Regions from separate parts of the Homo sapiens genome. Here regions 1, 2, 4 and 5 are each linked to region 3. The links are contacts of gene promoters, found by promoter capture Hi-C in blood cells and fetal thymus (Javierre and others, 2016). All regions are on one chromosome and are shown on one strand. Each heading gives the region's core, a stretch centred on a gene start or on the middle of the fragment in contact. The rest is flanking DNA. Distances are from core to core; before and after follow the strand shown.

Evidence for each region. The method cuts DNA at HindIII sites, captures the fragments that hold promoters and counts their contacts. A CHiCAGO score of 5 or more calls a contact.
Region 1: a contact is called between a fragment that was not itself captured here and the fragment with the promoter of MRPL15 in region 3, in 9 of 17 cell types (non-activated CD4 T cells, total CD8 T cells, naive CD8 T cells and 6 more). The highest score is 11.3, in non-activated CD4 T cells.
Region 2: a fragment that was not itself captured here is called in contact with the fragment with the promoter of MRPL15 in region 3 in 1 of 17 cell types (naive CD8 T cells); the score reaches 5.4 in naive CD8 T cells.
Region 4: a fragment that was not itself captured here is called in contact with the fragment with the promoter of MRPL15 in region 3 in 3 of 17 cell types (naive CD8 T cells, naive CD4 T cells and total CD4 T cells); the score reaches 5.5 in naive CD8 T cells.
Region 5: a contact is called between a fragment that was not itself captured here and the fragment with the promoter of MRPL15 in region 3, in 2 of 17 cell types (naive CD8 T cells and non-activated CD4 T cells). The highest score is 6.1, in naive CD8 T cells.

What each region holds. Positions count from the first base shown.
Region 1 is chr8:52,721,036-52,726,615 of GRCh38, forward strand. No RefSeq gene overlaps it. Among named protein-coding and RNA genes, the nearest start is that of RB1CC1, 9.4 kb to the left of the region's middle. The HindIII fragment of the contact is 374 bases long and covers 1,570-1,943 here.
Region 2 is chr8:52,785,847-52,791,184 of GRCh38, forward strand. No RefSeq gene overlaps it. Among named protein-coding and RNA genes, the nearest start is that of RB1CC1, 74 kb to the left of the region's middle. The HindIII fragment of the contact is 3,696 bases long and covers 741-4,436 here.
Region 3 is chr8:54,131,990-54,137,677 of GRCh38, forward strand. It overlaps MRPL15 (mitochondrial ribosomal protein L15), which reads left to right and starts at 3,252. Exons shown (of 5, transcript NM_014175.4): 1 at 3,252-3,402; 2 at 4,522-4,676; 3 at 5,279-5,444. The coding sequence starts at 3,295. The HindIII fragment of the contact is 13,913 bases long and covers 1-5,208 here.
Region 4 is chr8:52,939,617-52,945,270 of GRCh38, forward strand. NPBWR1 (neuropeptides B and W receptor 1) reads left to right here. Exons shown (of 2, transcript NM_005285.5): 2 at 95-4,118. The coding sequence starts at 292. The coding sequence ends at 1,278. Among named protein-coding and RNA genes, the nearest start is that of NPBWR1, 3.3 kb to the left of the region's middle. RefSeq lists enhancers at 1-372, 373-1,004. The HindIII fragment of the contact is 5,917 bases long and covers 1-5,654 here.
Region 5 is chr8:52,956,782-52,961,849 of GRCh38, forward strand. No RefSeq gene overlaps it. Among named protein-coding and RNA genes, the nearest start is that of NPBWR1, 20 kb to the left of the region's middle. The HindIII fragment of the contact is 6,943 bases long and covers 1-5,068 here.

The DNA of each region.
Region 1 (5,580 bases), core at 507-3,006, 1.4 Mb before region 3:
CAAGGCAGGTGGATAGCCCTGAGTTCAGAAGTTCTAGACCTGCCTGGACAATGTGGCAAAACCCCATCTCTACCAAGAATACAAAAAAAAAAAAAAATTAGCCAGGCATGTGGTGGCATACGCCTGTAGTTCCAGCCACTTGGGAAGCTGAGGTGGGAAGATTGCTTGAGCCTGGGAGGCAGAGGTTGCAGTGAGCTAAGATTGCACTGCTGCATTCCAGCCTGGGCAACAGGGTGAGACCCTGTCTCAAAAACAAAAAAAGAAAAAATGTCTAGCAATAGGTTACAGAGTTTCTCAATCTCATACCTACCAGTTAATTCTTTGTTATAAGGGGCTGTCCTGTACATTTTAGGATGTTGAACCTCCTTGGCTTCTGCCCACTAGATGCCAGTAGCACCCCAGTTATGACAATCAAAAATGCCTCTGGACATTTTGTAATGTTCCCAGAGGGACAAAATCAACCCCTTTCTCAGAATTCAGGGAAAACGTGGTACATCTATATAATGAAATACTATGCAGCCATTAATATTATATTTTAGAAGAATATTTAAAACAGGCCTGGCATGGTGGCTCACACCTGTAATCTCAGCACTCTGGTAGGCTGAGGTAGGAGAATCACTTGAGGCCAGGAGTTTGAGACCAGCTTGGACAACATAGCGAAACCCTGTCTCTACAAAAATAAAAGTAAAAATATAGACCAGGCGCGGTGGCTCACGCCTGTAATCCCAGCACTTTGGGAGGCCGAGGCGGGTGGATCACGAGGTCAGGAGATCGAGACCATCCTGGCTAACATGGTGAAACCCTGTCTCTACTAAAAGTACAAAAATAAGTTAGCCGGGCGTGCTCGGGAGGCTGAGGCAGGAGGATGGCGTGAACCTAGGAGGCGGAGCTTGCAGTGAGCCGAGATCGCACCACTGCACTCCAGCCTGGGCGACAGAGAGAATAAAAAAAATAAAAATAAAAATAAAATAAAAATATAGCTCTGTGTGGTGGTGCACTCCTCTAGTCTCAGCTACTTGGGAGGCTGAGGTGGGAGGATTGCTCGAGCCAAGGAGTTTAAAGCTACAGTGAACCATGACCACACCACTGTACTCCATCCTGGGCAACAAAGTGAGACCCTATTCTAAAAAAATTGTAAAAATATGTATATTAATTTTTTTTTTGTTTTGAGATAGGGTCTCACTCTCTCACCCAGGCTGTAATGCATTGGCACACCCACGGCTTGTTGCAGCCTCAACCTCCCAGGCTCAAGCAATCCTTCCACCTCACTGTCCCTAATAGCTGTAACTACAGATGCCCACCACCATGCCTGGCAAATTTTTGTATTTTTTGTAGAGACAGGGTTTCACCATGTTGCCCAGGCTGGTCTCAAACTCCTGGGTTCAGGCTCTCCTTTCACCTTAGCCTCCCAAAGTGTTGGGATTACAGGCGTGAACCACTCTGCCCAACCAAAAAATATTTAAAGACAAAGGAAAACAAAGTAGCAAGCTACTCTGTTTTACTATGTTTCGTATTTTAACATCTCTGAAATCTGGGTCCATTTAACAGTGGATGGATAGTGGTCCTCCAAGCTTGTCAACCAATGCCATCCATTTCCTGTGCTTACTATAAGACATCAAAAACACCAGATTGGAAAAAAATCCAAACTATAATGGTGAGAGAATTGATGAATAAGATGTGTTGTACAACATTCCCAAAGACAGCTAGGTACCTAGCACCACAGCTTTAGTTCTTTTATGGATTCTGTAAGGAAATGCTTGTTGCCAGTGCTTTCAGTGCTGCAAAGGATAAATTCTGTGGAAAAACCCAGACAATCTCTGAGTCGGAAGTAATAGTTCAAAAGTGATGAAATTTTAGAAATACCTTTACCAATGTAATTTGCTTGTATTTTCATTTTTATGTATGGGCAATATAATAAAAATGTGTCTAATGAAGTCTAAGAAAGCTTTCTAAGTAAGTACAAAATTAAATTCTAAGTGATTTTTCCTATGTGTATATTTTTCTTCATTTTCCAGACTACATATTTTTGAAAAATGTACCATTAGTCTTTTGTAACTTAAAACGAGTTCTGTTGTTTATCATATAAAATGAATGCTTTTTTCCCAATTCTCTGAAGTCCATTTATTTTAATAACACCATTTGTTTTTTTGCCTTCTTCCTCAAATGATCCCTTTGTTTTAATCAACCCTACCTGCTATCCATTCATGCAAAATACTTTTCCCAATAGTCATTCCTTTTCAGTATGATGTATTAAAAGGACCACTGAACTGAATGTCTGGAAACGTGGGTTCCAATTCTACCTCAGCCTTCTGTGTTGTTTCCCTAGTAGTTCACTCTTCCTACTCTCCATCAGATTGTCTGCACTATTCTTGAATCCCTAATTCCCACCCCTTCCCAGTTCTCTCTTTGGTAAATAATCTCACCTCCTACAACACTGAGGAAATAGAAGCCATGAGAAAAGAACTTCCTCTTCTGCCCTGAAATCTGCAAACCTATTTGCATCCACAAATTCTCTCCAACAGTCACTATTCTGTCCCTTCTATTTAAGGTAGTCGTGGGTTTTTGACTCCATCTCATTTTACCATCTCATTCTGTCATTCTGTGGAACCACTTACTAAGTACAAAATTTAGTTCATGTGTGACATACCTTACAAAACTTAAATATCTTTAAAATTGAAATTTATCCGGTTTCATTGTTTATTCATTTAAAATTAAAAATCAAGAAGTAAAACACTCTATCATCAATATGATTTAGTAGAAACAAATTATATCTTGTAGATGTTATTGAAATTCACTTATTAGTTGCTGGACAATTGTTTACATAAAATGACTTTTTAACAAAGGGTCAAAGTTAAAACTCCTAGGCAGATCTCAAAACTATCAAGTAGTATAGATTTTTTCTTTTTGGTTTTGTAATATTTGTGTGGCTTTTTTTTTTTTAACTTTTAAATTTTGACTGCCTTGATTAAAGTTTCAGTTAAAAAATTTTGCTGTCAATTTCTTTTCTAACCATTACTATTATTGTTGTTCTATTGTTACTGAAACTATAGAGGAATGGGATGTTAAAAAATTATCTACTCTGAGTGTCAAATACACTTCACCACTGGCAGGGCTCAGGGCTCTTCATTTTTTAATAAGTTCTAGGGGGAATTCTAATACAAGGAATGGCTTTGAGAAACAAGACTAAATTTTTAAAAATCCTCACAGTCCTGCTCAATCTTCTTTCTGTCAATAGATGTCGCCCCTCCCTTGAAATAAGCTCCTCAGAAAAATCCTAATCTACACACAAAGCTTTCTATGTGTTTGTATGCTTATTATGGATTAATTTGAACTCATATAATTCTCAGATGTGCCTTAATTTTTAAAATATGTGTATATAGTTTATACACATACATCATAAGTTGGCTGCATTAAGGAGTTGGAAAATCTGGGACTTCATTTGGATTTGGAAAATCAGTTAACATCTATAAATTCAAGTTCCTCATTTTGAAACTGTGTTGGCAATATCTACTTTAGCTACCTCACATTGTTCTATAGGTTAGAATGAAAAATCGCATGTAAAATATACTGTAGCTCTGACATTTGTACGGTCCCTACAGAAATTTTACATTAGCCAATCAACACTTTTTGAAAAATCTAACTCCAGTGGTTTTTAAAATGTATGAAGTGCTTGTATTTTAGTACAAACATCTAGTTACATTTAAAACATTTTGTGAAAAGAATTGCCATAAAATATTTTTAAAGTTCACATCTTTCTTACCGTTTACATTCATGTTATAGGCTTTTTGTCTCCTCTCCTTTCATTTTTTTCTACTCCCAGAGTTCTGGAAGCTGACCAAAGAGATACTTGTGTGAAATGCTTGTATTTTCCCTACCATATTTAAGGCTCTCAAGAGCAATTTTATGCTCCTGTTTTAAGATTTTTTTTAAAAAAAATTCAATATCACCAAGAAATGAACTGAAAATGACAGGTTTTCTGGAAGAAGGTTCAGCTAGGCTTTATTAAGAAGTTAGGAGGCCAGGTGTGGTGGCTCACGCCTGTAATCCAAGTACTCTGGGAGGCCAAGACGGGTGGATCACAAAGTCAGGAGATCAAGACCCTCCTGGCCAACATGGTGAAACCCCATCTCTACTAAAAATACAAAAATTAGTTGGGCGTGGTGGTGCATGCCTGTAATCTCAGCTACTTGGGAGGCTGAGGCAGAATTGCTTGAACCAGGGAATCGGATGTTGCAGTGAGCCAAGATTGTGCCACTGTGCTCCAGCCTGGGTGACAGAGCGAGACTCCGTCTCAAAAAAAAAAAAAAAAAAAAAAAAGTTATGATATGTCCTCAACACAGTGGGTAGTACAGATTCAAAATAAGTAAAAATGTTAAAGTCCACATTAAGTGACTTTAAAAAATTATCTTTTTCCTATTTCATATAACTGCTTCAGAAGTATTGTTTTTACTTGAAAATATTTTGTTGTATTTCTGTACAATAGCAATAAACAATTAAAATGCAATTGAGAGGCCAGGCGCAGTGGTTCATGCCTGTAATCCCAACACTTTGGGAGGCCAAGGCAAGCAGATCACTTGAGGTCAGGAGTTCAAGACCAGCCTGGCCAACATGGTGAAACCCTGTCTCTACCAAAAATACAAAAATTAGCTGGATGTGGTGGCAGGCATCTGTAATCTCAGCTACTCGGGAGGCTGAGGCATAAGAATCACTTGAACCCGGGAGGCGGAGTTTGCAGTGAGCCAAGATTGCACCATTGCACTCCAGCCTGGGCAACACAGTGAGACTCCATCTCAAAAAAAAAAAAAAAAATCTGTGAAACATTCTCTTCCCAATTTCAAAACTTTTCTACAAAGTCACAGTAATCAAGATAGTGTAGTACTGGCATAAGATCAGACAGATCGAATAGAATTGAAAGTCCAGAAATGAACTAAGTTTAAAGTCAATTGATTTTTCTCCTGAATCAAGGACTAGCAAAAAATAATAATAATAAAATAGGCCAGGCTCTGTAGCACAGGCCTGTAATCCTAGCACTCTGGGAGGCTGAGGCAGGAGGATCGCTTGAGGCCAGGAGTTCAACACCAGCCTGGGCAACATAGTGATACTGTCTCTACTAAAAAAAAAAAAAAAAAAAAAAAAAAAAAAAATTAAAAATTAGCCAAGCATGGTGGTGTGAGCCTGCAGCCCAGCCACTTGGGAGTCTGTGGTGGGAGGATTGCTTGAGCTCAGGAGGTGGAGGCTACAGTGAGCCATGATCATGCCACTGCACACCAGCCTGGTCGACAGAGCAAGACACTCAAAAAACAGAAAAGGATATTTCAAAGGAGGAAGGAAGAGCCTTCTCAATAAATAGTGCTGGGAAAACTGAATATCCACATGCAAAACAATACAGTGGCACTCATACCATAGACAAAATGATCTCAAACTGGACCAAAGACTTTAATAGCTAAAACTATAAAATTCTTAGAAGAAAACAGGAGTACATCTCTTCAGCTTTGTATTAGGCAATGGTGTCTTAGATATTACACTAAAAGCACACTTAACACACACACACAATTAGATAAATTGGACCTTATCCAAATT
Region 2 (5,338 bases), core at 1,339-3,838, 1.3 Mb before region 3:
TTTGTCTAAATTAGTCACATGAGGGCAAACCGTTTCCTTATCTGCACTCTCTTTTTCTTTTTAAAATGAGTTCAAGGCAATTTAGATGAGTGGGGACTAATGGGAAGGACCTTTGTGAAATCAGAAAGCTTGGATTTCTCTCTTCATTTTACCTCTGACTGATCGTGACACCATAAGTAAGACATATAATAGTTTCATTAGAAGACCCTGTTGAGAAAGGCAAGAGCAGGGAGCCATTTAGTGTGTGAGGTACCTGCTGGTTGAAAAAGTTATGGGGCTAAAAATAATCTCAACATGATGACTCTGTTGAAATTAGGCACCCAGGCAAATAAGCTGGCCATTGACCAACCCAGGAGACTGCCATTTTCCCACTGCCTATGCAAAGATCAGACAGGATAAATAGTCCTGGAAAAACCACAGTCCTGGTGAGGGGGTGAGTGTGGGGGGTTGACAAGTATATGGTTTCAAAATGACCATAAAGATGGAAGCATGATCTATAATTCTCATGATGCCTCTTAATGAGTTTGAATAGAGAGCACATAGGTGAAAAAATAAACTATGCAAATATAAAGAGGGGTGACTGGTTGGAAACATGATTGGCAATGCCAAATATGGCCAAAGATTTGAAAGATGTAGACAATCCCAGGTGAATGCTTATAATGTTATTCATATAGTGCTATATTAATTCTAAATGTATAGGAAGTATAATTATTCATTTTCTTCATATTTTTATCATAGGAAGCTTCTAGCAGAGAAGTTGAAAGAATTTTACAGTATATACCTATATATGCACAACCTAGATTTTACAATTAATATTTTACTATAGTTACTTTATTGCATGGCTATCAGTCTGTCCATCCCTTTCTCATCCATCAACTCATCTTGGCTTTTTATTCATTTCAAAGTAAATTGCAGACATCAGTACACTTCCCCTTATAATCGATAGTGTTTCAGTTCTTTATTTATTTTATTTTTTGAGATGGAGTCTTACTTGTTGCCCAGGCTGGAGTGCAGTGGCGTGATCTCAGCTCACTGTAGCCTCCACCTTCTGGGTTCAAGATCCTCCTGCCTCAGCCTCCTGAATAGCTGGGATTACAAGCGCACGCCACTGTGCCTGGCTAATTTTTGTATTTTTTGTCTCAAAAATAATAATAATAAGGAGTCAGAGACAATTTTAATAAGGATTATTAAATGGAAAAGTAATTTATTACCAGATATTTAGAGTCTTCTTCCCTCCCCTTGTGTGCAGTCTCACTGCATAGCTTATTATCTAGAATATAGTATGTGTACTATTAAATATCTGTTCAACTGAATGTCAGTAATCTTTGGGGTCTTAACCTGTTTGGGCAGAAAGACATTAGCTGGATGACCATTCCAGATTCTTGACTAGCTTGGCATTCTGATTTTAACATTTAACTCAATTTCACAGTCATTTGATCTTTTAAAAAGTTTAGAATGTTTTCATGAGCCTGCCTGCCTGGAGGGCCCTCTTCCCCCCAGTGCAGTTCACAAAACATCTGCGCCAAAGTGCTTCGTGCATATGGAATTGACTACTACTGCTTCGGGGCTGGGACAGGGTTGAATGCGATAGCCATCATTTTAACAAACTGCTACACAAAACAGCACTACAAAGGGAGTATTGATTGGATCCTCTATCTGCCTCCCCCAGCACTGCTCAAAGTTGAATGTTTCCATTGACTTTCTAATTGTTCCTTCCCCCCCAACTTTATTCTAAAGGCTAAACTTTAGAATAATACTTTAATACTAAGGAAAATTTAGTATAGTCTGGACCTGTCATGCATCCTGTTCAAGGGAAGGAGGGGAAGTAAATGGGTGGCAAGTGGAAGAAGGACAATCTAATTGGACACTTACTAGATGCCAGGGATTTTCTTTTCTTTTCTTTTCTTTTTTTTTTTTTTTTTTTTTTGTGACACAGTCTGGCTCTGACGCCCAGGCTGGAGTTCAGTGGTGCAATCTCGGCTCACTACAACCTCCACCTCCTGGGTTCAAGTGATTCTCCTGCCTCAACCTCCTGAGTAGCTGGGATTACAGGCATCTACCACAAACCATACCTGGCTAATTTTTGTATTTTTAGTAGAGACAACGTTTCACCATGTTGGCCATGCCGGTCTTGAACTCCTGACCTCAAGTGATTTGCCCGCCACAGCCTCCCAAAGTGCTGGGATTACAGGTGTGAACCACCACACCTGGCCTGGGATTTTCATATATTCTGTATTTTATATACTAAATATTTATTTAACACTCATTATGTGCAGAAATTTTCATATACTATATATAGCATTTGTCTCATTCGATCTCCAGAGGAACATTGTCATCCTAAAACCCATTTTCCACGCAAAGTAGAAACTGATGTTCAAATAAATGAATTTGAATTTAAATCTGAGCTTGGTTGACTTCAAAAATCCAAGCAGTCTCCATTCCCTCACCCTACCTAAAGGAGTTCTGCTAACAAAAGGACCTCGTTTTGTCACCGGGGGTCCTGGATACCCCAAAAAGGGCTCTTTCCTGTTCAGTGTTGTGAAGATAATACAAAAAGCCGAAAGTGTCAAGCAGTGCAGGCTTTATTCTAAGGCCAAGGAATTGGAGAAGTGGGACCGTAGCTTGCAAATCAATTTCTCAGTTTCTGAGAACCAGGAAATTACAAATTCAGGGTATCTTCACTGAAGGGGTTGGGCATTAAGAGCAAGGGGAGGAACATTCATGGTTTTTTTGGGAAGCAATGAAGATTTTCCTAGAACAGGGAGCTGCCTTTTTTGTCCTTTCTTGGTCTTTTCTGGTTATTGTCATAGTGATTGTCAGCTGTCATGGTGCTGGTGGGAGTGTCACTTAGCATAGAAATTGGATTATAATGAAGCTAGAGGTTCTTCAGAGGTCAAGTAGGCGGCCATACTGGGTTTCACCAGTTTCAGCCAGTTTAGTTCTAAGAAGGAACTAATGACCACAGGCATCCTGCTTCCTAAAAATAAGCAGAGTTAAAGCCCAGTAGGAATTTAGCTATGTCATGTAGGCATTACATTGGGCAACAAAAGCAGAGAGGGGGCCCAGCTAAGCCACCTAGGCACTACAATGGGTGACAATTTTATAGTATTATAGAAAAGATTCTCTGTCTGATTTCTTCCACGTTTACAGAACTCCAGATTTACTTTCAGGAGTCAAAGCACCGGGGAAAGATTCAACTTCCTTCAGAGATTTTGGAAACAGAGTTAAGGGATCATTTCTCCTGCCTCTCACTCCTACATCTTCTTTCTTAGCTGCCTCCTAACTCCATTGGGTATAGGAGATCTGGGTTAGTGACAAAGGATGAAAAATGAAAAAAGGATGCCAAACAATAGCAATTTTCAGGGTAGCAAGAATGCCATTTTGGTAGGCAGCTTCTATGTCTCCTGTGCAATGATTGCTGCTGGCCAGGATCACCCAGCCAGGAGGGTAAATTGGCAGTGTGTTTCTGCCTCCTGCCCAGAAGGTGCCCATTGTCTTCATGCTGGTCCTTGGCACCCTGGAACATCCCCCATCCCTGCACTGCAGTGTCCCAATTCGGCTTACTCAGTGTGGCTGGCACCCATCATCCCAAATTATTTCTCTCTGCTCAGCTACAGAATTATCATTTCTATTTCCAACTAGCAACAGCTTGTCACCCATCAGAGATATATTTCCATCTAAACAAAGCTCTTATCCTGCCAGTCCTTTGCATAAAAATGTTCAGTGTTTTCCTGTTGTAGTTAGAATGAACCCAAACTCCTTGCCATGGCCTGTGAAACCCGTGATCTGGCCCAGCTCTCCTATTTCATGTCCTATTACTCTACTCCTTGCTCGTGGGACCCAGACACCATTCTTGCTTTTCTAAGACACTCCAAATGCATTTTTATTCTCATTTGCTGTAACCTACTTCTTTCCCATCATGCAGGGTGCTTGCTCATTCGGAATCTCAGAGGGGTCTCTGTTAACCCTTCAACCTTGAATAGCTTCCTCCCCACCCACAGAGGCCTCTCTTTTATCATCACCTTTTCTATTTTTTCAAAGAGAGTTTCACAGTTAGAAATCATGCTTTAGATGGATTTGTTCATTTTGTTTTCTGACTCCACTGAAATATCTGCTCCATTTGCAAGGGGCCATCTCTACCTGTTTTTCACTATACTCCTTGTGTGTAGAACATTGTGTACTCAATAAATGTTGTTCAAATGAAGGCAATTTATGAGCACTAAGGGTTGGCTGACCATCATAGCAGAATTCTACCTACCATGGCAAGCAGGTAAAGGAAAGGTTTTGCATGGAAATGGGAGGAAGGAGGTAGGGATTAGGTCCTACACTCTCCCTAAGATTTTCCCACATTATTGGCACACATAAGTCAAAAACAAATACAGGCAGTCCTTGTTGTGCTTGGTTTCAGTAGGCGTGAATATCAGTTACCATAGTTAAGCTTAATAAGCCAGGCTTCTAACAACACAGTTAAAATTTCAATTGTTACCATGATACATTAATTTGTGAGTAATTTTATAAAGTACTGACATCACTGCCAGGAATCAGTTCACAGATCATTAAATGAATAACGTGCTCATCCTGGTCAGTGACCGATCACATCACTCCTCACCTCTCTGCCATAAGTGAAACCCCCCTGTGGAACTATGGTCCCTATAGCTCTCTCAGGAACATCATTCACTGTGGTTCAGCAGGACTGCTGACATTCTCCCAGAGTGGACTCCAGGCCAAGCTTTCATGAACTTTCCTCTATTTTTTCAGCTGTGAAGTAGAGAGATGTAGAGATGTAGAGGTTGAAGACAGGTGGGCTCTGATGTGTGTGGGCAAAGCCCTTTTCCTTTCTGTAACCCTACCCTGAGTGCAGGTTTATCAGGATGTTCAGGGTGCTGACCTGCTTCCAACTCGGACATGAGTGATTTGCGTCCCAGAGCATCATGTTGCAGGCACTGTGCCTAATGCTTTGTATTATTTCATTTAACCTTACAACAGTTTTATGCAGTACTGTTATAGGACTGACAGGTTCATATGCCTGCTGCACATGAGCAGATCAATACATTGAGACAGCAGGCTTTGCAGCAGAGAACAAGTTTAATGACTGCAGGGTACTGAGAGAGGAGATGAGAAGAGACCCCGAAATCCATCAGAAGTTCTGGGCTGGGGTTTTTAAGGAAATCATGGAGGGAGAGGGACTGGAGAATTGGAGTTGTTGATTGGCTGGGGGAGGGAAATGAAATCATCAGGATGTGGAAACTGCATTCGTGGGCGAGTCAGCTTCTTGGGTGCTTCTGACCATCTGAGTCAGGAGTTGCATTGGTATGCAGTACCTGAAGGAAAATCTCAA
Region 3 (5,688 bases), core at 2,002-4,501:
ATTTTTGTATTTTTAGTAGAGACGGGGTTTCACTATGTTGGTCACACTGTTCTCGAACTCCTGATCTCGTGATTCGCTCACCTTGGCCTCCCAAAGAGCTGGGATTACAGGCATGAGCCACCGCGCCCGGCAAAAAAACTTTTTTTTAGAAAAATAATTAACTCAAAGGAATTAATCTATGTTAACACACTGTCAGGTGCTGATATATATATAGATTGGGGAAGATTTCGTGGCAGTGTGTGAAGTCTTCCAAAGCAGTTCAAATTGTATCACTTCATTCTTTTTTTTTTTTTTTTTTCAGACAGAGTTTTGCTCTTGTGGCCCAGGCTGGAGTGCAATGGCGTGATCTTGGCTCACCACAACTTCCGCCTCCGGGGTTCAAGCGATTCTCCTGCCTCAGCCTCCTGAGTAGCTGGGATTACAGGTATGCACTACCACTCCCAGCTAATTTTGTATTTTTATTAGAGATGGCGTTTCTCCATGTTGGTCAGGCTGGTCTCGAACTCCCAGCCTCAGGTGATCCGCCTGCCTTAGCTTCCCAAAGTGCTGGGATTACAGGCGTGAGCCACTGCGCCCGGCTTCATTGTTATTATGTAATGATTCAGCAGTTATTATCAACTGGGGTTGGAATCAGGATGGACCTTAAATAGTTGTTGAGATATTAATGTTTTTATTACAAGTTCTTGTTAACTTGATTTAAACAGGATTTAGCACATCCCAAGCATGTAGGTGGGTAATAAATATGACTTGTGCAATTATGAGGATGACATAAAACTACTATATACTTAAGGTAAGGATTGTTGACTTATTGACCACACACCCTTAATTTACATTCTTACAACACAAACGAAACTCATCAAATTATTTTGACAGTTTTATATGCTTAATCAACATGTTGGATATGGGATAAACAAACACGTAGCCTACAATTAACTGTCAACAATTGTTATTCCCATTATTATTAACTGATGTCCACCAATAACATTATATAACCCATACGACTTCTACTTCCAAGAAGTGCAGCATATTTCTTGTATTTTATTTATTCAATAAAAAAATTTTCCATGATAAAAAACATTACTGGCATTAACACTTAATCAAGAAGTTCATTACTTAATGCAAACAATGATTTTTTGGGGATTGAAAATAATTGTGCACTTTTCTGTAGATTAGGGTACAGTTTGCAATTATATTTTGCAATTTTCTTCCCAAAGGTAGGAAAGTTTAATAAAAACACAATGAAAACTACTGAATTAAAAATCACTAAAGGCAGGCTGGACTCAGTGGCTCACACCTGTAATCCCAGCACTTTGGGAGGCCAAGGCAGGTGGATCATTTGAGGTTAGGAGTTTCAGACAAGCCTGGCCAACGTGGTGAAACCCAGTCTCTACTAAAAAACCAACCAAACAAACAAACTAAAAAAGCTGTACGTTGTGGTGCATGCCTGTAATCTCAGCTACTGGGGAGGCTGAGGCAGGAGAATCGCTTGAACCTGGGTGAGGAGCCTGCAGTGAGCCGAGATGGCGCTACTGCACTCCAGCCTGGGCGACAGAGTGAGATTCCATTTCAAACAAACAAACCAAAAATCATTAAAGGCAGAAAATAGGTTCTATTGCCCCCCACACCCCATTCTATTTCTTCTGTGCTTCTAAATAGAGTCTAGACTTTACCATCATATCATTTTATCGAACTCACATATTTTGTTTTTGCTAATTAGTCTACAAGAGGCCTACTTTTATCTTTAACTTTTAAAAAACATTCACGGGCCAGGCGCCGTGGCTCACGCCTGTAATCCCAGCACTTTGGGAGGCCGAGGCAGGGGGATCACCTGAGGCCAGGAGTTGGAGACCAGCCTGGCCAACATGGCGAAAACCCGTCTCTACTAAACATACAAAAAAAAATTAGCGGGGCGTGCTGGTGAACGCCTGTAATCCCAGCTACTCAGGAGGCGGAGGCGGAAGAATTGCTTGAACCAGAGAGGCAGAGGTTGCAGTGAGCTGAGATTGAACCATTGCACTCTAGCCTAAGCAACAGAGCGAGACTCTGTCTCAAAATAATAATAATAATAATTCACTTTTGGAAACTGTTCCCTACTAGATTTCAAACAACTTGGGAATGAAATCCTATTTGAGTTCATCCATGTGTATTTCCAACAAGTTCAGTGTCTTACTTATAAATAGTACTTGAAGGAATGAATACAACTTTTTCTTTATGTAGTTATTTTACACTTGATTTAAAGGAACTTTAAAAAGACGCAGTTATACCTAGAGACAGACGCCCTCCAAAAATTGTCTCACCTTCATTATTTGTGATTACTAGTTAGAGCTAGCAGAAAAAACTCCCCAGCAAGTGAAATGTCAAACCACTACTAAAAGAAAGAAAAAGAAAGGAACAGTCTTTTCTATATTTAAGTCACTTGAGAGAAAAAAGAAGAGCTGGTATTTTTCGAGTAATAATGTTCGTATTTTGTGATGCAGATACTCAATTTTACATTCTAAAAATACTACTTTTATAGTAGGAAGCAGTGTACGTTTGAATCCTGGCTCTGCCGCTTGTTGCAAGAAGTTGGTCAAGCTATCGGACCTTGCTAAGCCTTCCCTGTTGTAACTGTAAAATGTAGTAACACCATTTACCTCTAGAATGGCTGTAAATCGAGTAAGGCTTATTTAATACAGCGTCTGGCATACACCAGGCATTCAGTATGGCGCCAGTCATTAACAATAGGTGGTTACTAACTGCGATTCACTCAAAACAATACAGATGCACACGGATGAGAGTTCACACTTTGAGTCTTATTCAAAGATTGGTTATTAGCCAGGCATTTTGATAGGTGCACTCAGTTTTATTTTCGTACCTCACGGTGTATAATTACGCAAGCTCAAAAGCTAATAATTGACAGCTCACTTTGCTTTACTCTGGGTTCTGCATTGACCTCAGAGAAGACACGGCCTAGACAAACAGGCAAGGCCCAACACTGACTCAAAAAAGATCCTTTATTTAACGCAGTGTTTTTAGTGCATGCTCTCGTTTGGCGAAAGAGAAGGTTTTACGTTCAGAATATTAAAAGGGACCCCGAGGACAAAGCAGGATCTCGGAAAATAAGATCACATCCCCAAACAACTAAAAGGACAACCGAGACAAGGTTGCAGACTCCCACGCCTCTGCCCGACTCCCGGGCTTGCGCGCGCGGCTGCAGCGCGACAGGGGCGGGGCCACGGCCACAAAGCAGCCCCCGAGACCACGTGGCCTCCGAGCAGCTCAGGGCGCCCTTGAAAGTTCTTGGATCTGCGGGTTATGGCCGGTCCCTTGCAGGGCGGTGGGGCCCGGGCCCTGGACCTACTCCGGGGCCTGCCGCGTGTGAGCCTGGCCAACTTAAAGCCGAATCCCGGCTCCAAGAAACCGGTAAATGGGTGGTGGCGGTGCGGGGAAGCGCTGGGGACCCGGGCGATGAAAGCGGCCCTTCTCTCCCTGTCATTAGGAGAACTGCCCTTTCTAGGAGAGTGTTGGGATGAAAATAGGATTGCCTCATGCCTGTTCTCCCTTACTGCCCAGAGGGGAATCTTTCCACGTGCACCCAGTTCTTTTTTTTTTTTTTTTTTTTTTTTCCGAGACGGAGGCTTGCTCTGTCGCCCAGAAGCAATTCTCCTGCCTCAGCCTCCCGATTAGCTGGGATTACAGGCGCCCGCCATCACGCCCGGCTAATTTTTGTATTTTTAGTAGAGACGTGGTTTCACCGTGTTGGCCAGGCTGGTTTTGAACTCCTGAGCTCGCGATCCGCCTGCCTCGGCCTCCCAAAGTGCTGGGATTACAGGCGTGAGCCACCGCCCCCGGCCGCACCCAGTTCTTAATAAGGTTATGTTTACAAGTGTAAAGATACCAGGCGGAGAAGCCGACTCGCTGAAACTACAAAGTCTTTGTGTCATTCAAAATTGGATTTAAAATGAAATGTTTTCCCGGTGTATCTTTATGTTCATTGGAAAGATCTGAATTGCAGCTGTCCCTTCTGCAGTTGACTAAATAGAGCTAGAAAAGCTGTTAGTTGACAATGTACTGTCATTTTAACAGTCAGTTCATTGCTTTCGTGAAATGACAGGAAATTAAGGAAAAGATTTTCTTCAACAGATCAGTTTTCAAATAAAATTACAGGTTTATGAATAACATTTGCATATTTACAATTAATTTCAGAATAAATTCTTGCCTATCATTTAAAATGTTGTGAATATTTAATTCTAGGATTTTTTTCGGTTTCAACCTATTATAAAAACCTTATCCCCATCCTAACCTTTACTTTTTGCTTTTGAAACACACTTGGACTTTGGTTACAAGAATTAGCTATGTCTTTAGAGGCAAAGATGCTAACAGAGTGTGTGGAGCTTTGAGCAACTAGGACATGCTTGACACAATAGTGTTAGCTAGCACTGGTGGGCTGGATGAATGAACAGCATAACAAAAAGTGAAGAGCTGAAATGCAGTTTTTAGAAATGCATCTGAAATTCATAAAATTCTTTTTTTTCCTTGCAGGAGAGAAGACCAAGAGGTCGGAGAAGAGGTAGAAAATGTGGCAGAGGCCATAAAGGAGAAAGGCAAAGAGGAACCCGGCCCCGCTTGGGCTTTGAGGGAGGCCAGACTCCATTTTACATCCGAATCCCAAAATACGGGTTTAACGAAGGACATAGGTAAGGTTGCTTTGCTTTTTAAAGTACAGGTCCCCAATTTCCATTAAAAAGCACCTAAAAATAGTTTGGTAGAAATTTTGGTGGAAATTGTAAATTCACTTTGAAGCAAACTTTTGCTACTGTTCCCCTGAACCATTTTTTGGTAATGAAATCTTGCCTGGATTATTAAAAGGAAAAGAGGCCCAGACACTGCACTTAGACCTGCAAAATGGAGATTCTAATGCCAGCTCTAATGGTTATTAAAAGAGTGAGCAATAATAGACAGTATACATAAAAATCTGGCCCACTGTAGTCACCTAATAAATGATAACTACCATTATTACTTTGAGCTCCATAGTAAGTTAAATTTTCCACAGATTTATTTGTGTAAATAAGTGAAGTAAATGCTTAGAGAGGGAAATAATTTTTAGTGGAACAAAGGTGGTACAGGTTTGTTTTCATTACCCAAAATCAAGCAGTATTACATGTTTGTGTTACACTCAAGAGGGTTTTGTTTAGTTAAATAAAATTGGTGGAGGAAAACACAAGACAAAGCTTTGAGTTGATTTCGAGAAGTTACAGGAAGATGAGAGTTTTCCAACTCTTACATTCTTGTTTTACAGTTTCAGACGCCAGTATAAGCCTTTGAGTCTCAATAGACTGCAGTATCTTATTGATTTGGGTCGTGTTGATCCTAGTCAACCTATTGACTTAACCCAGCTTGTCAATGGGAGAGGTGTGACCATCCAGCCACTTAAAAGGGATTATGGTGTCCAGCTGGTTGAGGAGGTAAGTCTTGATTAGATCTTTTGGTGTTATATAGGAGGATTTTTTTTTTAGACAGAGTCTTGCCCTGTTGCCTGAGCTGGAGTACAGTGGCGCAATCTCGGCTCCTGCAACCTCCACCTCACAAGTTCAAGTGATTCTCCTGCCTCAGCCTCCTGAATAGCTGGGATTACAGGCACCCACCACCATGCCCAGCTAATTTTATTTGTTTTTAGTAGAGACAGGGTTTCACTATGTTGGCCAGGCT
Region 4 (5,654 bases), core at 1,522-4,021, 1.2 Mb before region 3:
GCCGCGGCGCCACCCCCACCCCTCCTCGGGACCGCGCCTATTTCTAAAGTTACACGTCGACGAACTAACCTATGCTTTAAATTCCTCTTTCCAGCCCCGTGAGTCCGCGGCGACATTGGGCCGTGGGGTGGCTGGGAACGGTCCCCTCCTCCGGAAAAACCAGAGAACGGCTTGGAGAGCTGAAACGAGCGTCCGCGAGCAGGTCCGTGCAGAACCGGGCTTCAGGACCGCTGAGCTCCGTAGGGCGTCCTTGGGGGACGCCAGGTCGCCGGCTCCTCTGCCCTCGTTGAGATGGACAACGCCTCGTTCTCGGAGCCCTGGCCCGCCAACGCATCGGGCCCGGACCCGGCGCTGAGCTGCTCCAACGCGTCGACTCTGGCGCCGCTGCCGGCGCCGCTGGCGGTGGCTGTACCAGTTGTCTACGCGGTGATCTGCGCCGTGGGTCTGGCGGGCAACTCCGCCGTGCTGTACGTGTTGCTGCGGGCGCCCCGCATGAAGACCGTCACCAACCTGTTCATCCTCAACCTGGCCATCGCCGACGAGCTCTTCACGCTGGTGCTGCCCATCAACATCGCCGACTTCCTGCTGCGGCAGTGGCCCTTCGGGGAGCTCATGTGCAAGCTCATCGTGGCTATCGACCAGTACAACACCTTCTCCAGCCTCTACTTCCTCACCGTCATGAGCGCCGACCGCTACCTGGTGGTGTTGGCCACTGCGGAGTCGCGCCGGGTGGCCGGCCGCACCTACAGCGCCGCGCGCGCGGTGAGCCTGGCCGTGTGGGGGATCGTCACACTCGTCGTGCTGCCCTTCGCAGTCTTCGCCCGGCTAGACGACGAGCAGGGCCGGCGCCAGTGCGTGCTAGTCTTTCCGCAGCCCGAGGCCTTCTGGTGGCGCGCGAGCCGCCTCTACACGCTCGTGCTGGGCTTCGCCATCCCCGTGTCCACCATCTGTGTCCTCTATACCACCCTGCTGTGCCGGCTGCATGCCATGCGGCTGGACAGCCACGCCAAGGCCCTGGAGCGCGCCAAGAAGCGGGTGACCTTCCTGGTGGTGGCAATCCTGGCGGTGTGCCTCCTCTGCTGGACGCCCTACCACCTGAGCACCGTGGTGGCGCTCACCACCGACCTCCCGCAGACGCCGCTGGTCATCGCTATCTCCTACTTCATCACCAGCCTGAGCTACGCCAACAGCTGCCTCAACCCCTTCCTCTACGCCTTCCTGGACGCCAGCTTCCGCAGGAACCTCCGCCAGCTGATAACTTGCCGCGCGGCAGCCTGACTCCCCCAGCGTCCGGCTCCGCAACTGCCCGCCACTCCTGGCCAGCGAGGGAGGAGCCGGCGCCAGAGTGCGGGACCAGACAGGCCGCCTAGGCCTCCTGGGGAAACCGACTCGCGCCCCATACCCGACCTAGCAGATCGGAAGCGCTGCGACTGTGCCCGCAGGTTGACCTTGCCAAGCCCTCCAGGTGATGCGCGGCCATGCCGGGTGAGGAGAACTGAGGCTGAGATCGCCACACTGAGGGCTCCCTAAAGCCGAGGTGGAGGAAGAGGAGGGTAGAGGAGGAGGGCGGTATTGCTGGGAACCGCCCCCTCCCTGCCCTGCTCCCTGCTGCCCCACCCGAGCCCTGGCAGTCTGGAACCTGGCTGGAGTCGGAACTCTCCGCGCCTTCGAAGGGAGGCCCGAGGACGCTGCCGGCGCCCCCAGGCGTCGGCTCCGCGCGGCCCCTGCTGTAGCTGGCGCACAGCCCCGGCGGGTCCCCTTGTCCTCCGCGCGCTCTGGGAAGACGGTCAGGCGCGCGCGTTTGGCGCCCACCCCTGTGAGACCCGCTTGGCCTGGCGCCGCGGGCGGGGACCGCTGCCGAGGCCGCCAGCGCCTCTTCAACTGGGGAAAACACAACAACTCGGGATGCCCCATCGGAGTGTGTATACACCTGTGTGTGTGTGTGTGTGGTGTGCGCGCGTTTGCGGAGGCATGAAATGCGGGGAAAGAGGCTGGCGCTTGGCAGTGACTGCCTAGAATATGATACGAATAGTGATCCTTCTTTCTGTCTGCCCCTACTCCTTTTCTTTGCCTTTTCCCTTTCCTATCCGTGATCTCCCCTGAAAATGTCAGACTCCCGGAGCAAGGAACCCGGAGTAGCCCGGGCGCGCGGTTCCGGCGCCCCCTGGAGGAGCCAGCGGCCGAGTGCTTAGCGTCGGAGGATCGCGGGGCTTTGTGGTGGAGCACTCCGGCTGAGCGCGCTTCACAGCGCTGTGGCACACTGGTCATCGTTGCTTATAGAGGATGCCAAGCCCCACCCCCATTCCCCCAATTGGCCTCGTCTCTTGTCTTACTTAGATCAGTTTGTTGTAACTGTTCATGTGTGTACTGTTTTTCAGGACTGAAAACTTTATAAATAATGTACATGTCCTAATCTCACGAGTTGCCATGAAGATCAAATAAGATAAAAAGAAATGCGATCTATTCTCTTGTGTTCCCTTTCTCCTCTGCTTCCTTGGCTCCGCCTTAGGGAGAGCAGGAAGCAGGGATGACCGACGGCTTCAGGTTTTCTCTGCTGTACTTTTCACAGGGAGCTGTGGATTACCTGGGCTTTATTCCTTACTTGTAGACGGCATCCGGTAGGTAGTCCCGGTAAACCGGGTAAATACTGGTCCTGGAGTCACCAGGGAGATTGGCCAGCATCCTACCTGTGTTTTTGTCTCTGCATATGGAAGACAAAGTGGATTAAGAGAGAGGACTGGCATTGGGTTTGCCCAATCCTCTGCAGTTTAGCCTTAGACATGAGGGCCGAACCCTAAGCAAAGTCTGGTAATTGATTATGGTGTTTTAAAAGGTATTAATCTTTAGGATGAAGTCCAAACAGGATGAAAATTTCTACAAATGTTTGTTTCCTATGTCATGTGTGAGAAAAAAAAATGTGAGTGTTGCAGCACATTTTGTTTGCTTAGTTTGGCATCTTCAATCAATTTCTCAATTATTTAGGTTGAAAATAGCTTTTAATAAATATTTGGAAGGAAAAAACTCCCCCTTGGAATGGGGGGAAGCAAACCCCCTCTCTAATTTTGGTGAATAAGAATTGCTTTCTTAGCTCTCAGAGTTTTTAGGAACATTGAAATAATTCATAGCCATCAGTTTAGAAAATATACATTAAAAAACCTTCTGTCTTGGGTGGCAAATAATAGTAAATTGTTTAAAAGAAAGTTTTCATCTACAATGAGTTTCGAGTGGTGGACCTCATGGCATTTGAACAGGCCTCTCTCTGCTGGCCGGCTTCGGAGGCTTCTTGGAATTCATTTTAATATCTTTCGAATTTCTAGGAAACATTCTATTGATTTTCCTTAAACTCTCAAAATTATCTCATGAATCCTCTGTAACTTTTCAAAATTAAAGTTTTAAACTTAGAGTAACTTCTAGATTACCTAAGGTGATGGACAAAGAGTAAGGTGAACATTTGGCTACAAACACAGCTGGAGTGATTGTCTGGATTCAGTATCTCATCTGTCTTAATAAGCTCAGTAACTGGACTCAGATGGGGGACAGCTGAGTGATCCATCTGTCCACTGTTTCATCCCTACAGTAGATTGACCTCGAGCCTTCTTGGAATCTATGGAGATGACTGCTGGAAAAATACACGGGCTGACATTGCTGTTCATCCCCAGCAAGGCATGGACTGGCTTCTGAGTATGCCTGTGGGATTAATCAGGTCTCAGCAGTTGAGTTCCTCCTGGGCTTTCTGATCACTGGATAAACTGTTGTATCATTATTTCTAGGTCGTTGCCCTTCATACGAGCATGTAGACTGTATATCTCAGGCTTCCTTTTTATGTCTTGGGTAATCGGTTGAATAAATACACACATAAGCCAGGCAAAAGTAGAATTTATTCACATCATTGTATTGCAAAGGTTTTAACACTGTGTTGAATTCTTGCAGTTTCTGTGTAAACTCTATGGTTTGGTTTTACCACTTTGAATAGTTAAAAATGTCTATTTGCTTTTACTTAATTTAGTGCAGTTATGTAATGTGTATGCTTATGTTTTCTCTTGACAAACGCAGAAACTCTGTAGTCCATTGTAGAGGAGCTCAGTTTAAAATAAAAGCTGAAACATTCTGTGTGATAAGTGAACATTCTATTTTCTGAGAACAAGTTATCCACAATTAAGTCACCTTAGCATTTGTGCAGTGTTACTATTTAAAAATACTGCCTTCATTGGAAAAGTGATCCAATGAATACTCAATGAATAAATAGAAGTATTTGACAGGACAAAATTAAGAATGAACACCCCCACCCCTTAATTTGGTTGATTGTGAAAATGATGCAAAGCTGCTGATAAACACAGAGATTCCAGAACTTATGCTGGGCAGAGAAAGGATGCTAAACTTCTATCATACCATCAAAAGCCTCATTTCTTAAATATTTGAGCAGCTATGTGGAGGGGGAGAAGGGAAGAGAAATTGCTTCAATTATTAGTATACACATTGCTATCAGCAATATGCATAGACATAGCACAAATATGCAAGGTGGAGAATCTCACCTGAAAAACTCACGAACTTATTATAAACCCTTCTTTCCTCAGCAACATGCTGGGAAAACAACAGCAAGACAAAAAAACAGTAAACTCTCCTTGGATATTAATCATCTATGCTTATGCACATTAAGAAAGAGATCAGAGAATTCTGCCCATAATGGTCTTTTATTAGCACAGCTTTGGGTCTGGCACTTCGGCCCCCATTTTACATACAAAGAAAGTGAGATACAAGGAAGTGGATCAATTTAGCCAGGCCCACAAAGATCAGTGAAGACCAATCAGAGCCACCCAGTTCCCATTCTATTCTAGGAATTGTGTCATCTTGTTTCAGCAGAGATGGAATTCGTTGCAATGTGTAATTTGGAAATATTAGACTAGAAAACAATGATGTCTTTTAAATATTTAGTAGATTAAGCAAGCTGTATCTACCATTAGCTCATACGAGATAAAGGGAGGGTAAGATTTAATATTATAAAACTTCAATCTTAATTCAGAGACTTACAAAGTGTATGGGATTGTTGAAAGTTATATGAGAATAAAAATTCCTAACAGAGCTGTCACACAAAGGCACCATGTGCATAGCAGCCTCCACGCTTTATGTACGTGGAACTGTGCCCCAGAGGGACTATTCATATAGGAGACAATGCTAATGATGGCTGTACTCTGTAGAATGGAGCTTTGCAATGGATGATGCTGTCCTTGAATTTAGGGCAAGGGAAATGTATTTGTTTATACCATATCTCATAAGGTTACATTGGTGACATCATGTTAAATAAAAATAAAAGATGGAAAAAGGGAAGGAAATTTAAAATGATATTGCTCAGAAACTGTCAGAATGCATGAACTGCATGCTTCCCACAGTCCAGAAGATTTCTCTTGGGCCTGGGGGGCAATAGTGCACACAGACCTGATGCTCTGTTGGGCCAAGACCCAGGGAGCGGCTCACCATCTTCCTGTAAAATCTGGATCTTCTCATATTGTTCGACCAGAAGGTTAACTCACCCCCATTCTGAGGTAACCCAAGGGCCAGAGTCACAACTGCAATAACCAGGCCACCGTTTACCACGGAAAGAGTGGGTGTTTGCATAGTCAAAAATGTGGGAGAAATTGCCAGAGTTCCCAAAGGTG
Region 5 (5,068 bases), core at 2,098-4,597, 1.2 Mb before region 3:
AAAGAAATCTCCAAAGGACCACAACTCCCCCATCGGGCCATCAGTTATGTCCCCTTCAAGCTGTAGGGGGAGGGGAATTTGGTGCAACCTGGGTACCTGTCCCCTTCTCCCTCTCTGACTTAAAGCAGATCAAGGCAGACCTGGGGAAGTTTTCAGATGATCCTGATAGGTACATAGATGTCCTACAGGGTCTAGGGCAAACCTTTGCCCTCGCTTGGAGAGATGTCATGCTACTGTTAGATCAAACCCTGGCCTTTAATGAAAAGAATGTGGTTTTGGCTGCAGCCTGAGAGTTTGGAGATACCTGGTATCTTAGTCAAGTAAATTATAGAATGACAGTCAAACAAAAGGGAAAAATTCCCTACCAGTCAGCAAGTCATCCCCAGTATGGATCCCCACTGGGACCTCGACTCAGATCATGGGGACTGGAGTCATAAACATCTGTTGACCTGTGTTCTAGAAGGACTAAAGAGAATTAGGAAAAAGCCCATGAATTATTCAATGATGTCCACCATAACTCAGGGAAAGGAAGAAAATCCTTCTGTCTTCCTTGAGCGGCTATGGGAGGCCTTAAGAAAATATATTCCCCTGTCACCTGAATCATTTGAGGGTCAATTGATTCTAAAAGATAAATTTATTACCCAATCAGCCCCAGGTGCAGATATCAGGAGAAAGTTCCAAAAGTAAGCCCTGGGCCCTGAAAAAAATCTGGAGGCATTTTAAAACCTGGCAACCTTGGTGTTCTATAATAGGGACCAAGAGAAATAGGCCCAAAAGGAAAAACAAGATCAGAGAAAGGCCACAGCCTTGGTCATGGCCCTCAGACAAACAAACCTTGGTGGTTCAGGGAGGACAGAAAATGGAGCAGGCCAATCACCTGGTAGGGCTTGTTATCAGTGTGGTTTACTAGGACACCTTAAAAAAGATTGTCCAATGAGAAACAAGCTGCCCCCCTCGTCCATGTCCACTATGCTGAGGCAATCACTGGAAGGTGCGCTGCCCCAGAGGATGAGGGTTCTCTGGGTCAGAAGTCCCCAACCAGATGATCCAACAACAGGACTGAGGGTGCCCAGGGCAAGCACCAGCTCATATCTTCACCCTCTCTGAGCCCCGGGTACCTTTAACCATTAACGGCCAGGAAATTGACTTCCTCCTGGACACTGGCATAGCCTTCTCAGTGTTAATCTCCTGTCCTGGACAACTGTCCTCAAGGTCTGTTACCATCTGAGGAATCCTGGGACAGCCTGTAACCACGTATTTCTCCCACCTCCTCCGTTGTATTTGGGGGACTTTGCCCTTTTCACATGCCTTTCTTGTTATGCCTGAAAGTCCCACACCCTTATTAGGGAAGGATATATTAGCTAAGGCTGAGCTATTATCTACATGAATATGGGGAACAAGTTACCCATTTGTTGTCCCCTACTTGAAGAGGGAATCAACCCTGAAGTCTGGGCTTTGGAAGGACAATTTGGAAGGGCAAAAAATGCCCACCCAGTCCAAATCAGGTTAAAAGATCCCACCGCTTTTCCTTATCAAAGGCAATATCCCTTAAGGTCTGAAGCTCATAAAGGATTACAGAATATTGTTAAACATTTGAAAGCTCAAGGCTTAGTAAGGAAATGCAGCAGTCCCTGCAACACCCCAATTCTAGGAATACAAAACCTGAATGGTCAGTGGAGACTAGTGCAAGATCTTAGACTCATCAATGAGGCAGTAATTCCTCTACATCGAGTTATACCCAACCCCTATACCCTGCTCTCTCAGATACCAGAGGAAGCAGAATGGTTCACAGTTCTGGACCTCAAGGATTCCTTCTGTATTCCCCTGCACTCTGACTCCCAGTTTCTCTTTGCCTTTGAGGATCCCACAGACCAAACATCCCAACTTATGTGGACGGTCTTGCCCCAAGGGTTTAGGGATAGCCCTCATCTGTTTGATCAGGCACTGGCCCAAGATCTAGGCCACTTCTCAAGTCCAGGCAGTCTGGTCCTTCAGTATGTGGATGATTTACTTTTGGCTACCAGTTCGGAAGCCTCCTGCCAGCAGGCTACTCTAGATCTCTTGAACTTTCTAGCTAATCAAGGGTATAAGGTGTCTAGGTCAAAGGCCCAGCTTTGCCTACAGCAGGCCAAATATCTAGGCTTAATCTTAGCCAGCAGGACCAGGGCCATCAGCAAGGAATGAATACAGCCTATACTGGCTTATCTTCACCCTAAGACATTAAAACAGTTGTGGGGGTTCCTTGGAAGTACCGGCTTTTCCCTACTATGGATCCTCGGATACAGCGAGATAGCCACACCCCTCTATACTGTAATCAAGGAAACCCAGAGGGCAAATACTCATCTAGTAGAATGGGAACCAGAGGCAGAAACAGCCTTCAAAACCTTAAAGCAGGCCCTAGTACAAGATCCAGCTTTAAGCCTTCTTACAGGACAAAACTTTTCTTTATATGTCACAGAGAGAGCAGGGATAGCTCTTGGAGTCCTTACTCAGACTCGTGGGACAACTCCACAACCAGTGGCACAACTAAGTAAGGAAATTGATGTAGTAGCAAAAGGCTGGCCTCACTGTTTATGGGTAGTTGCAGCAGTGGCCATCTTAGTGTCAGAGGCTATCAAAATGATACAAGGAAAGGATCTCACTGTCTGTACTACTCATGATGTAAATGGCATACTAGTTGCCAAAGGAAGTTTATGGAGTTTATGGCTATCAGACAACCACCTACTTAGATACCAGGCGCTACTCCTTGAGGGACTGGTGCTTCAAATACACACATGCGTGGCCCTCAACCCTGCCACTTTTCTCCCAGAGGATGGGGAACCAATTGAGCATGAGTGCCAACAAATTATACTCCAGACTTATGCCACCTGAGATGATCTCTTAAAAGTCCCCTTAGCTAATCCTGACCTTAACCTATATACTGATGGAAGTTCATTTGTAGAGAATGGGATACGAAGGACAGGTTATGCCATAGTTAGTGATGTAACCATACTTGAATGTAAGCCTCTTCCCCCAGGGACCAGTGCCCAGTTAGCGGAACTAGTGACACTTTCCGGAGCCTCAGAACTGGGAAAGGGAAAAAGAATAAGTGTGTATACAGACAGCAAGTATGCTTATCTAATCCTACATGTCCATGCTGAATATAGAAAGAAAGGGAGTTCCTGACTTCTGGGGGAACCCCCATTGAGCATCAAAAGGAAACTACGGAGTTATTGCACGTAATGCAAAAATCCAAGGAGGTGGCAGTCTTACACTGCCAAAGCCATCAAAGAGGGGAAGGAGAGGGGAGAACAGCAGCATGAGCAGCTGGTGGAGGCAGCAGAAAGGAAAGAGACAGAAAGTCAAAGAGAGAGAGAGGAAGAAACAGAGAGAAAGAAAAGGAGAGAGAGAGAGAGACAGACACAGAAAGTCAAAGAGAAAGTCAAAGAGAAAGTCAAGGAGAGAGTCAAAAAGAGAGAAAGAGACAAAGAAGAAGTCAAAGAGAAAGAAAGAGAAATGGAAGTAGTAAAGAAAAAAACAGTGTACCCTATTCCTTTAAAAGTCAGGGTAAATTTCTGTCTACCCAGACAAGGCATATTGTTCTTATGTGGAACACTGACTTATATCTGCCTCCCCACTAACTGGACCGACACCTGCACCTTAGTCTTTCTAAGTCACAACATTAACATTGCCCCAGGAAATCAAACCCTATCAGTACCCCTCAAAGCTCAAGTCTGTCAGCGAAGAGCCATACTACTAATACCCTTACTTATAGGGTTAGGAATGGCTACTGCTACAGGAAACAGAATAGCTGGTTTATCTACTTCATTATCCTACACACTCTGAAAGGATTTCTCAGACAGTTTGCAAGAAATAAAAAAACTATCCTTACTTTACAATCCCAAATAGACTCTTCGGCAGCAGTGACTCTCCAAAACTGCTGAGGCCTAGACCTCCTCACTGCTGAGAAAGGAGGACTCTGCACCTTCTTAGGGGAAGAGTGTTGTTTTTACACTAACCAGTCGGAGATAGTACAAGATGCCACCCGGCATTTACAGGAAAAGGCTTCTGAAATCAGGCAACGCCTTTCAAATTCTTATACCAACCTCTGGAGCTGGGCAACGTGGCTTCTCCCCTTTCTAGGTCCCGTGGCAGCCATCTTGCTGTTACTCACCTTTGGACCCTGTATTTTTAACCTTCTTGTCAAATTTGTTTCCTCTAGAATTGAGGTCATCAACTTACAGATGGTCTTACAAATGGAACCCCAAATGAGTTCAACTAACGACTTCTACCGAGGACCCTGGACTGACTCGTGGGCACTTTCACTGCCCTAGAGAGTTCCCCTCTGGAGAACACTACAACTACAGGGCCCCTTCATCACCCCATCCAACAGGAATTAGCTAGAGTGGTCATCGGCCAAATTCCCAACAGTAGTTGGGGTGTCCTGTTTAGAGGGTGGATTGAGAGGTGACAGCATGCTGGCAGCCCTCGCTCACTCTTGGTGCCTCCTTGGCCTTGGTGCCCACTCTGGCCACACTTGAGGAGCCCTTCAGCCCACCGCTGCACTGTGGGATCTACTCTCTGGACTGGCAGAGGCTGGAGCCGTCTCCCTCTGCTTGCGGGGATGTGTGGAGTGAGAGTTGTGGGTGATACTGGGGCTGTGCACAGCGCTTTTTGGCCAGTGCGAGTTCTGGGTGGGCATGGGCTCGGCAGGCCCCGCACTCAGAGCGGCCGGCCGGTGCCACTGGCCCCAGGCAGTGAGAGGCTTAGCACTCAGGCCAGCAGCTGCAGAGGGTCCACCAGGTCCCCCAGCAGTGTGGGCCTGCCGGCTCAGCTGCCTCCCCGCAGGGCAGGGCTCGGGACCTGCAGCCCATCATCCACAAGCCTCCCCCCTGCTGTGGGCTCCTGCAGGGCCGAGCCTCCCTGACGATCACTGCACCCTGCTCCATGGCACGCAGTCCCATCAACCGTCCAAGGGCTGAGGAATGTGGGCACAAGGCACGGGACTGGCGGGCAGCTCTGCCTGCGGCCCTGGTGCGGGATCCACTAGGTGAAGCCAGCTGGGCTCCTGAGTCTAGTGGGGACTTGG